2 separate regions of the Homo sapiens genome follow, and region 2 is linked to region 1. Evidence: promoter capture Hi-C in 16 types of primary human blood cells and fetal thymus (Javierre and others, 2016). All regions are on one chromosome and are shown on one strand. Each heading gives the region's core, a stretch centred on a gene start or on the middle of the fragment in contact. The rest is flanking DNA. Distances are from core to core; before and after follow the strand shown.

Region 1 (4,561 bases), core at 20-2,519:
GAGAATCGCTTGAACCCAGGAGGCAGAGGTTGCAGTGAGCCGAGATCACACCGCTACACTCCAGCCTGGGCAACAAGAGCAAAACTCCGTCTCAAACAAAAACAAAAACAAAAAAAAAACATATACTATATCTATAATGGGCTTTAATCTAGCTTCGTATTTGAGAGGAAAAATGATACATTTCCAACGTCCAGTATACTTTCTTTGTAGCTCCTCTCTGGGCCAAGAAAAGATGTATAGCTTTACTTTGAAATATCTGCCTGCTTTGCTTCTGATAATTACTCAGACTGTGTCTCCTTCCCAAGATGAGCAGCCTCGATATAAGTATGTAAGACTATATGCCACTAGATGATGTCACATAGCCTTTATTACAATAGCAAAATTCTATGCCAGGTACTGTTCTAAGTGCTTTGCATACATTAACTCATGTAGTCCCCATATTATACCCATTTTACAGATGGGGAAACCGAAGCACAAAGCGGTTACTTGGCTTGCCTAAGGCCATAGGAGGACTGTGTTGGAGCTGGGGGTCCAATCCAGTAAATCTGCCTTCAAGGTCTGCGTTAGTTCCCCAGTCCAACTTGTGGGTGCTGGAGACTGGAAATATCTTGCCCGCCCCCCACCCTGGCCCCCCTCGCCCTTCCTACCAGACCTGGCTCAGGGCAACTGCTAAGGCCCCGCCCCTCTCCTCATTCCAAGTCAATCACTGGCGTGCGTCCAGGAAACCCAGTTTACGACGACGTCTCTGGTGCGTCACAGAGCGCGGGGGAGGGGCGGGATCACATTAAAAAAAAAAAAAAGCTTCGGACACCCCAACAACGAAGGGGGGACACCACGTCCCTAACTACAACGCCACTAGAAGGGTTGCGCATGCGCGCCAGCCTCCTGCGCAGCCGCAGAAACCACTCAGCGCGCGAGTCTCTGAAAGGCCTAACGTCCATTTTCAATCCTGCGGGTCTTGCGAAGGAAAACCTGAGGTAAGAGGCCCCGCCCCACAGCCATCTCCTCAGCAAATTCCCGCCCTCGGCCCCGCCCCACAGCTATCTCCTCAGCAAATTCCCGCCCTCGGCCCCGCCCCACAGCCATCTCCTTAGCAAATTCCCGCCCTCACCCAAGGACTGGGAGAGCACCCGCGGATTGGCCGATCAACGGTGACGCCTGTCAGTGGCCAGACTCCGATTGGTCAGCGGGTAGTCCCGCCCCCCCCCCCCCCCCCCCCCCCCCCAACCGCGAGTGTGGGAATTCGGCGTCGCGGGAGCTCTCTGATCCACTCAGGGGTCAGGGCATCACTGGTCTCGCGTGCGCGTGACCAGGCCCGGTTTCCGGTGCCAGGACCTTTCCGAAGCGTCGAGTGGCCTAACGGTCACAGCTGTCGCCCATCGGAGAGGCAGGACTACTGCGAGCAGTTTTACCGCGACCTCCGGAGGCCGGCGTGACAGGCTCTGTCACTAAAATAGGTCTGTCCAGTCGTACTTTTTCCTCACCTTGAACTTTCCGTCACGGGAATACACGATTTGGCTTAGGGGCCGGGGCTCTCCTGAGGAGAGAGGGTTTGCTTTGCGGGGAAGAGCGAGTCTTGACTTCGCAGCCTCCAATTTCAGCCGCGGTGTGGAGGGGGGTGCTTTGGGTGGTCCCCACAGCCTTTCCGGAGTGCCCGCGCGTGTAAGCTTTTGAGATTTGACAATTTGTGAAGTGCTTGGTGCTGACTTTCGGGGACGACAGGATCCTTTTACAGTCATTCTCCTGTCAGGGGAGGCAGGTGGGGAGCGAGGAAGGATCCAGATTTCGTTAACAGAGCTTTGAGTTTAAAGAATTGACAAACTCCCGAGTTGATTTCCTGTCAGACCTTTTGCGGTTGAGACATAGAGTCTGAGGCTTTGATGGTAACCGCGTTTGATTTAGAGACAGACTGTGCAGCTTCGCTGTTTTATTGTAAATACGTAAATGAGGAGGAAGAGAAAAACGTAGGGTGTTGGGAGCAGAGGCGGGAGGCGGGAGATCCTGCGAAATCGGAGTCCCTTTGGAGTGGGGGAGGCCGTCGAGGCGTGCGAGGGCCCGGCCCCCTTGCCGCGTGGTCGTTAACAGGAAAGGCCCTGATTTGGTTGGTGGCGGATCGCGTCCCTCCCTCCTCTCCCCGGCTCTCCCCGAGTGCGGCAAACTGGCTTCAGGTTGACTAAAAGATAGCGATTTTCCAAGCAGCTTTGCCGCGCGGTGTTTTCTAAAGCGGGGCGTGGGCTGGGTGCCCTTTTGGGCCTCACTTGTCCGGCCTGCGGCAAGTGCTGGGCGATGGGATGCGGTTCTGGCGGCAAAGGAAGGGCTGCCTTTGAGAGTCCCGCAGGAAGGTTTAGAAAGTGATTGTTCTTAAAACAAACAGAGCGTTTTGCTGTGTGTTCCTCAAAGTGGTCCCGGTGGGAGTGGCGCCTCATTGTGAGCTGTGCCTTATCTGATGAATTAATGGCAGGTGAAAGCCTTGCGCCTCCGGAGCGAATATTTACGACTTTTGAAAATGTCTTTAATGTCTAAAAAAAGTCTTTTAGAAAATCAGACGGCCTCTTGTTCTTATGTTATCAAGAGTTTAGATTTCTGTGGTAAATATAAGTGAGTTTCATTTTAAGTAAACTCATTTTACGAGATTTGAGATTTGAAAGTGAAATTAATTAATTTTGCACAATCTAGCCTTGGGCTCTGAGAAAATGTTGTAAAGCTGTAATTAATCTTGTGGGACGAAGTGAAAAGGAACTAAAGTGTATGGTGTAATGAATAGTTTAAATTTCTGTGGTAAATACAAGTGAGTTTCATTTTAAGTAAACTCATTTTTATGGGATTTGAGATTTAAAAGTGAAATTAATTAATTTCGCACAATCTAGTCATGGTTGGGCTCAGAAAATGTTGTAAAGTTGTGATTTATCTTATGGAAAGAAGTGAAAAGGAATTAAGGTATATGGTGTAATTAAGAGTTTAAATTTCTGTGGTAAATGCAAGTGAGTTTCATTTTAAGTAAACTCATTTTTACGGGATTTGAGATTTAAAAGTGAAATTAATTCATTTTGCACAGTGTAGTCATGGTTGGGCTCTGAGAAAATGTTGTAAAGCTGAAATTATTTATCTTGTGGGAAGAAGTGAGAAGAAACTAAAATGTGTGGTATTATCAAGAGTTTAGATTTCCGGGGTAAATATAAATGAGTTTCCTTTAAACTCATTTTTGTGGAATTTGAGGTTTAAAAGTGAAATTAATTTTGTAGAATCTAGTCATGGTTGGGCTCTGAGAAAATGTTGTAAAGCTGTAATTTATCTTGTGGGAAAAAGTGAAAAGGAACTTAAATTTATGGTGTTATCAAGAATTGGCCAGGCGCGGTGGCTCACACCTGTAATCCCAGCACTTTGGGAGGCCGAGGTGGGCAGATCACTTGAGGTCAGAAGTTCGGGACCAGCCTGGCCAACATGGTGAAACCCAGTCTTTACTAAAAGTACAAAAATTAACTGGGCATGGTGGTGCAAGCCTGTTACGCTAACTACTCGGGAGGCTGAGGGAGGAGAATTGCTTTAACCCGGGAGGCAGAGGTTGCAGTAAGCCGAGATCATGCCACTGCACTCCAGCCTGGGTGACAGAGTAAGACTCTGTCTCAAAAAAAAAAAAAAAAAAAAAAGAAATTTAGATTTCTGTGGTAAATATAAATGAGTTTCATTTTAAGTAAACTCATTTTGTGGGATTTGAGATTTAAAAATGAAATTAATTTTGCACATTCTAGTCATGGTTGGGCTCTAAGGCAATGTTGTAAAGCTGTAATTGTTTGCCTTATGGGAAGAAGTGAAAAGGAATTAAAATTTATGGTGTGTCTACTATGAACCAGGCATGATGCTGAGAGTTTAACTGTGTAATTTTTGGCCTAAATAGCCCTGTGAAGTAGATATTATTCCAACTTTACAGGTTAGAAAATTTGAGGCACAGAGAGGTGAAATATTTGCCTAAAGTGAAACGGCAAATTTGGCAATTTGGACTTGGATTCAAGTGTTTATAACTAAAGCCCAGCTCCTTGCATCATACCCTGGTACCTAAAAGACATAAAAACTCACTTCAGGTGCAATGTGAATGAAAATGACGTTATGACCCAGGCTTGTTGTCTATGTGCTCCTTGAGAAATAGTTCTGTTGGATAGATGCGGTCAATACTCAAAAGCCCTTGCTATCTTTGCCATGCATTACTCTAAGCACTTGACATGTATTAATTTAATCCTCACGATTCCGTGAGGTATGTGCTATTATCATTCCCATTTTACAGACAAAAAAAAAAAAGGATTTAAGTAAGTTGTTCAACTTACTTACACAGCTAGTATGTGGGGGAGGTGGGACCCAAACCCAGGTATTCTGACCACAAGCCTAAGGTCTTAATGCTGTTTGATGCTGCCTCTCATGTAACCAGATATGTGTGACAGTTGCCGTAGAAGTATTAAAGTGTGAGTGTTATTGTAGTTCAGGGAAAGCCGTGTCACATCCACATGGGATGATCATTGGCATGGTGCCCTTGCTTTTTGGAGGTGAAACTTGAAGTAAGCCTTGAAGT
Region 2 (4,736 bases), core at 2,159-4,658, 2.4 Mb after region 1:
TTTAGCAAACAAAAACAAACTTCAAACAATGTCTTTGTTGAATTAGAATATGACTAATCCCCAGAGAGGATGTCCATTAATTTGTAAATATACTGAGACTTCATTTTGAAAGGCTCAACAGTGGGGATGACTTGTGGAAGTCAATTACTCAGACTACAGTGAGTTTAGCACCCATCTACCACCTCAACATGGTTGGTCAACTCAAAGGCAGCCTTTCTTCTGAAGTGAGGGAAAAAGTAATAATAAAACAGTGTATGCCCAAGTCAAGTCAGCTGCTATTTTAGAGGCAAGGATGACCAAGGCTAAGAAACCAAAGGACTTTTAGCCAGAAAACGTATCTCATGTTTACTGGTTTATATGTATGGCGTAATAAATCCACCCAAAGTTCTATTAAAAGCTAAAGTACTGGAAATAATTGGAATACCTGAGGAAATATGGAGTATATACTAGATATTATATCAATGTCAAATTACCTGAGTGTGATAATTCTCTTCTAGTTATATAAGAAAATATACTTGCACTTAGAAGATACATGATCAAGTAAGGGAAAAGTAACATGATGTCTCTAAATTTCAAATGGTCCTGAAGAAATCCTACATATGGGGCTAGGTGCGGTGGCTCACGCCTGTAATCCCAGCACTTTCGGAGGCCGAGACGGGTGGATCACGAGGTTAGGAGATCGAGACCCATCCTGGCTAACACAGTGAAACCCCGTCTCTACTAAAAATACAAAAAAAATACCCAGGCATGGTGGCGGGTGCCTGTAGTCCCAGCTACTTGGGAGGCTGAGGCAGGAGAATGGCGTGAACCCGGGAGGTGGAGCTTGTAGTGAGCCGAGATCGCGCCACTGCACTCCAGCCTGGGCGACAGAGCGAGACTCCATCTCAAAAAAAAAATTAAAAAATCCCACATATATATTTCTTTATATGTGTGTGTACAGATGAAGGATTTAAGGGAGTTTGTTGCACTAATACTGCAACTTTCTGTAGGTTTGAAATGACTCGAAATAAAAGTAACAGGAAAGGGCAAACGATCCAGTTAGGATTTATTTGACTAGTGCTATGTATCTTGGTCTGGCACTTACAATATTCTTCAGTCTAATAAAATCAGTTAACTGTTCAGTTTCATTTTATTGTAGTTTACGAAGTTATATGCTAATGGCACTGGAGAATGGAGAGGTCTATAAGGGCCTCAGGCTCATCCTTCAAATGTCCATGGTCTACTCAACATATTATATGTACCATTCACTACCAGAAATGCTAATCATAGAACTGCCAACTAAATCACAGAACTGTCAACCATAGCTCAATTCCCTCTGAACTATACGACACATTCTTAGTTCCCAGTACTTTGGGAGGTCATGGTGGGAGAATCACTTGAGCCCAGGAGTTCGAGAATAGCCAGGGCAACATATGAAGACCTCATCTCTATACAGTTTTTTTTTTTTTTTTTTTTTTTTTTTTGAGACAGAGTCTCCCTCTGTCACCCAGGCTGGAGTGCAGTGGTGTGATCTCGGCTCACTGCAACCTCCGCCTCCCAGGTTCAAACAATTCTCCTGCCTCAGCCTCCTGAGTAGCTGGGATTACAGGCACGTGCCACCACACCCAGCTAATTTTTGTAATTTTAGTAGAGACGGGGTTTCATCATGTTGGTCAGGCTGGTCTCGAACTCCTGACCTCGTGATCCGCCCGCCTTGGCCTCCCAAAGTGCTGGGATTACAGACGTGAGCCACTGCGCCCAGCCTAAAAAAATTTTTAAAATTAGCCAGACGTGGTGGTGTGTGCCTGTAGTCCCAAATACTCGGGAGGCTGAAGTGGAAGGACTGCTTCAGCCCAGGAGGTCATGGCTGCAGTGGGCTGTAATCGTGCCACCACACTTCACCCTGGGCGATGGGCAAGACGCTGTCTCAAAAAAATAAAGTCCCCAGCTAAAAAAGAAAGGATGTTATTTTAAAAAGCGTAATTTATGAAAACACTTACCCTGACCATCCTCTTTGAATACCAGTTCTCTTTTTTCAGATTCATTCTCATTCTTACCCCTGCGTCTGTTTTTACCTCCTTTACCTGATGGTTTAAAAAAAAGAAAAGGAGGTAAATGACATTAATTATCTGTAAAACAGTATGAAATAAAATGAAATTAAGGCTTATAAAACCATTTTTTAAAAGATCACTTAAATTAAAAAATTCATCTATTTTAGCTACACAATCATATTAAATTTACAATCTCCAATCCCAACATTAACACATTATCACCTCCCTACCCTTCTTGGAATTTCCTTTGGGGATTTTTCTGACATAAAATACACATAAATAGCAGATATTATGTTAAAAAATATAGAAAAACATTTCACTTTAGCACCCATCCTTTTGAAATAAAAATGCAATTCTATACATATTCTTCTAAGCGGAAATCTTGGGTGTCTTCTAAAGCCAGGCCCTATGCAAGGAACCCGATACTTTCAAAATTAAGTGAAGACAGTGTCTGGACAGAGAACTGTGGTTTTCAAACTTTTGGTAGCAGAGTACCATAAATATTGAAATCTCACTGGGTGCAGTGGTGTGCGCCTAGGGTCTCAGCTACTCAGGAGGCTCAGGTGGGAGGATCACTTGAGCAAGCCCAGGAGGTTCCAGGCTAGCCTGGGCAACATAGCGAGACACTGTCTCTTAAAAAATAAAGAAGATCTGTTCGGTACCCAATTTACTTTCTTTTATAATGCTGGTCCCTACTCAACATCCCTGTTTCTATTATATGACCCCAGTGACCATGCTCTTAACCACTATGCAATAATTCTGCCCATTTACTTGTCACAATCACCCCATGAGGTCATAACATTCATTTATTCCCAGTTTACCCATGAGTTCCCTGAAGCTCAGAGAAGTTAAGTAAGTCGCTTAGCTTCAGTGAGTAAATCAGTTCACTGATTACAGTCAGTAAGCTGGGGTGACCAAAGTCACAATGTTTTTTTTGCCCCTAGCCCCCACATAAGCTTACCTCTCCACAGCATTTTGCTCCCATTCCAGAAAGGAAACCACATTGGCAGCCATTTCCAAAAGGCAGGAAAAAGGCTGTAAGTGGTAATGACCCTAAGAGACTCATGGGAAGAGCTTGGAAGCAGCAAAAAAAAATGGAGGACACTTAAATTAGGTCATGAAAAGTACCATTCCTCTAAGTAAGATAACTAAGAACTGATTGGTTTCAGACAGTACAGGAATGATAAACACCAAACTCAGCCTGGTGATTACCTCCAAAAAGAGAGTAAAAGGTGATTAGGGCTTTACCTCAATCTGCGCTGTAATTCTTAAATTCAGAGTAATGGGTTCCCAGGTATATCATGTTAGCTGTATTTTTTGTATGCCTCAAATGTTATTTAAGAAAAGACTAATTACTTGTCAATTTACCAGAATTAACCATACCCGGATCACTCCCCTTTGTATTTTATTGCCATGTAATGGGATGTTCTTTAAATTCTCTGTTGAATGAATGAGACTAGGTCTGAGTGTACAACAATTAAAGTGACATCAACATTCTTTAAACCAGAGTTGTTTTGGAGAAATTCCCAGAGAGGCTCTTTCTTAAGACATGAGGCTAGGGAACTAGATGTGATTTAGTGTAGAAGTCCTATCCCCTTGGAACCAAAGCAGAACCTATTATTCACTAAGGGTGGAGTCGACAGGAGGTAGGTGACTTAAACCAACAAATATTTATTAAGCATCTACTAATTGTCAAGTGCTGGCAATCCAATGAGATTAAGACAGATACTATTCCTGCCTTGTAGAGCTTACAGCCTGGTGGAAGAATTGGAAATCTTATTACTAGAAATAAAGGTGAGAATAAGATGGAAGTGATCCCCTTACCACCTCAGAGAGAATAAAGGATTATACAGAAGAAAACTGTAAGACTTTAAAATTTTTTGTTTATAACTCCATCTTTTCCAAAATAATGAGCAGTGACTGCACCAACTTGTGCACAGAACACCTCGACCAAGTACCCTAAGGGATAAAGTAATAAGTGACAGCTACAAAGAGGAAATGTGGTAGAATCCCTGGAGCCAGCTGTCAAGTAGAAAAGAGAGCAGAAGTAGGCCTGTGTCAGGGGAGGGTTTCCTCTAGAATGAATAATCAAAGGAGACTACTTACGGACTATGAAGTATGCTCCTCTCCTGTAGGAAAATACAGTATTTTCCCTATATTTACTTGCACAATTTTCTTCAAGTTATACGGCTATTAAAAATGACAGGAACACTGTAAATCTATAAAAGTAATTTCTTTAGGAGTGTTCTGTTTTTTGTTTTTGTTTTTTTTTTTTTAAGATTAGGCCTTCCGTTTTGGAAATCCCAAATAAAGTTATCCTCAAGTCTGATCATTTGTGAACGCTTAGCCTCAGAATGGAGGACACTTAAATTAGGTCTTTATTCTCACAACATATGCATCATCTGAAGCAAAAGTAGAAAACTTGGCTCAATATGGAATAAGTCTTCAGCAAACAAACATAAGCTATATCCTGTAAAGGGATGGAGAGAGTAAATCTCTAGAGGTGAGCCTTAGAAATGTATCAAGGTTTCACCCACTGTTCACAAGGGACAGCGAGTAGCCTCAACAATACTGAACTGTCCATAAAGAAACCCATGCAGGAGTACCTGGTGCTCACGAATGCAGACAGCACTCTGAAAGTTCAGAACGGCTTCCAGGGATTATAACCCCTCATGCCCGGGAAGGCCAAAGGGGCCTATCTACTAA

Evidence for each region. Contacts are between HindIII fragments. The CHiCAGO score rates a contact against its expected background, and 5 or more counts as called.
Region 2: a contact is called between the fragment with the promoter of EIF1AX-AS1 here and the fragment with the promoter of SCML1 in region 1, in 1 of 17 cell types (non-activated CD4 T cells). The highest score is 5.7, in non-activated CD4 T cells.

Annotation. Positions count from the first base shown.
Region 1 is chrX:17,736,224-17,740,784 of GRCh38, forward strand. SCML1 (Scm polycomb group protein like 1) reads left to right here and starts at 1,270. Exons shown (of 8, transcript NM_001037540.3): 1 at 1,270-1,457. The HindIII fragment of the contact is 866 bases long and covers 800-1,665 here.
Region 2 is chrX:20,136,560-20,141,295 of GRCh38, forward strand. It overlaps EIF1AX-AS1 (EIF1AX antisense RNA 1), which reads left to right and starts at 3,409. Exons shown (of 2, transcript NR_046592.2): 1 at 3,409-3,676; 2 at 3,776-3,885. EIF1AX (eukaryotic translation initiation factor 1A X-linked) reads right to left here. Exons shown (of 7, transcript NM_001412.4): 2 at 1,980-2,063. RefSeq lists an enhancer at 4,521-4,680. The HindIII fragment of the contact is 4,524 bases long and covers 2,985-4,736 here.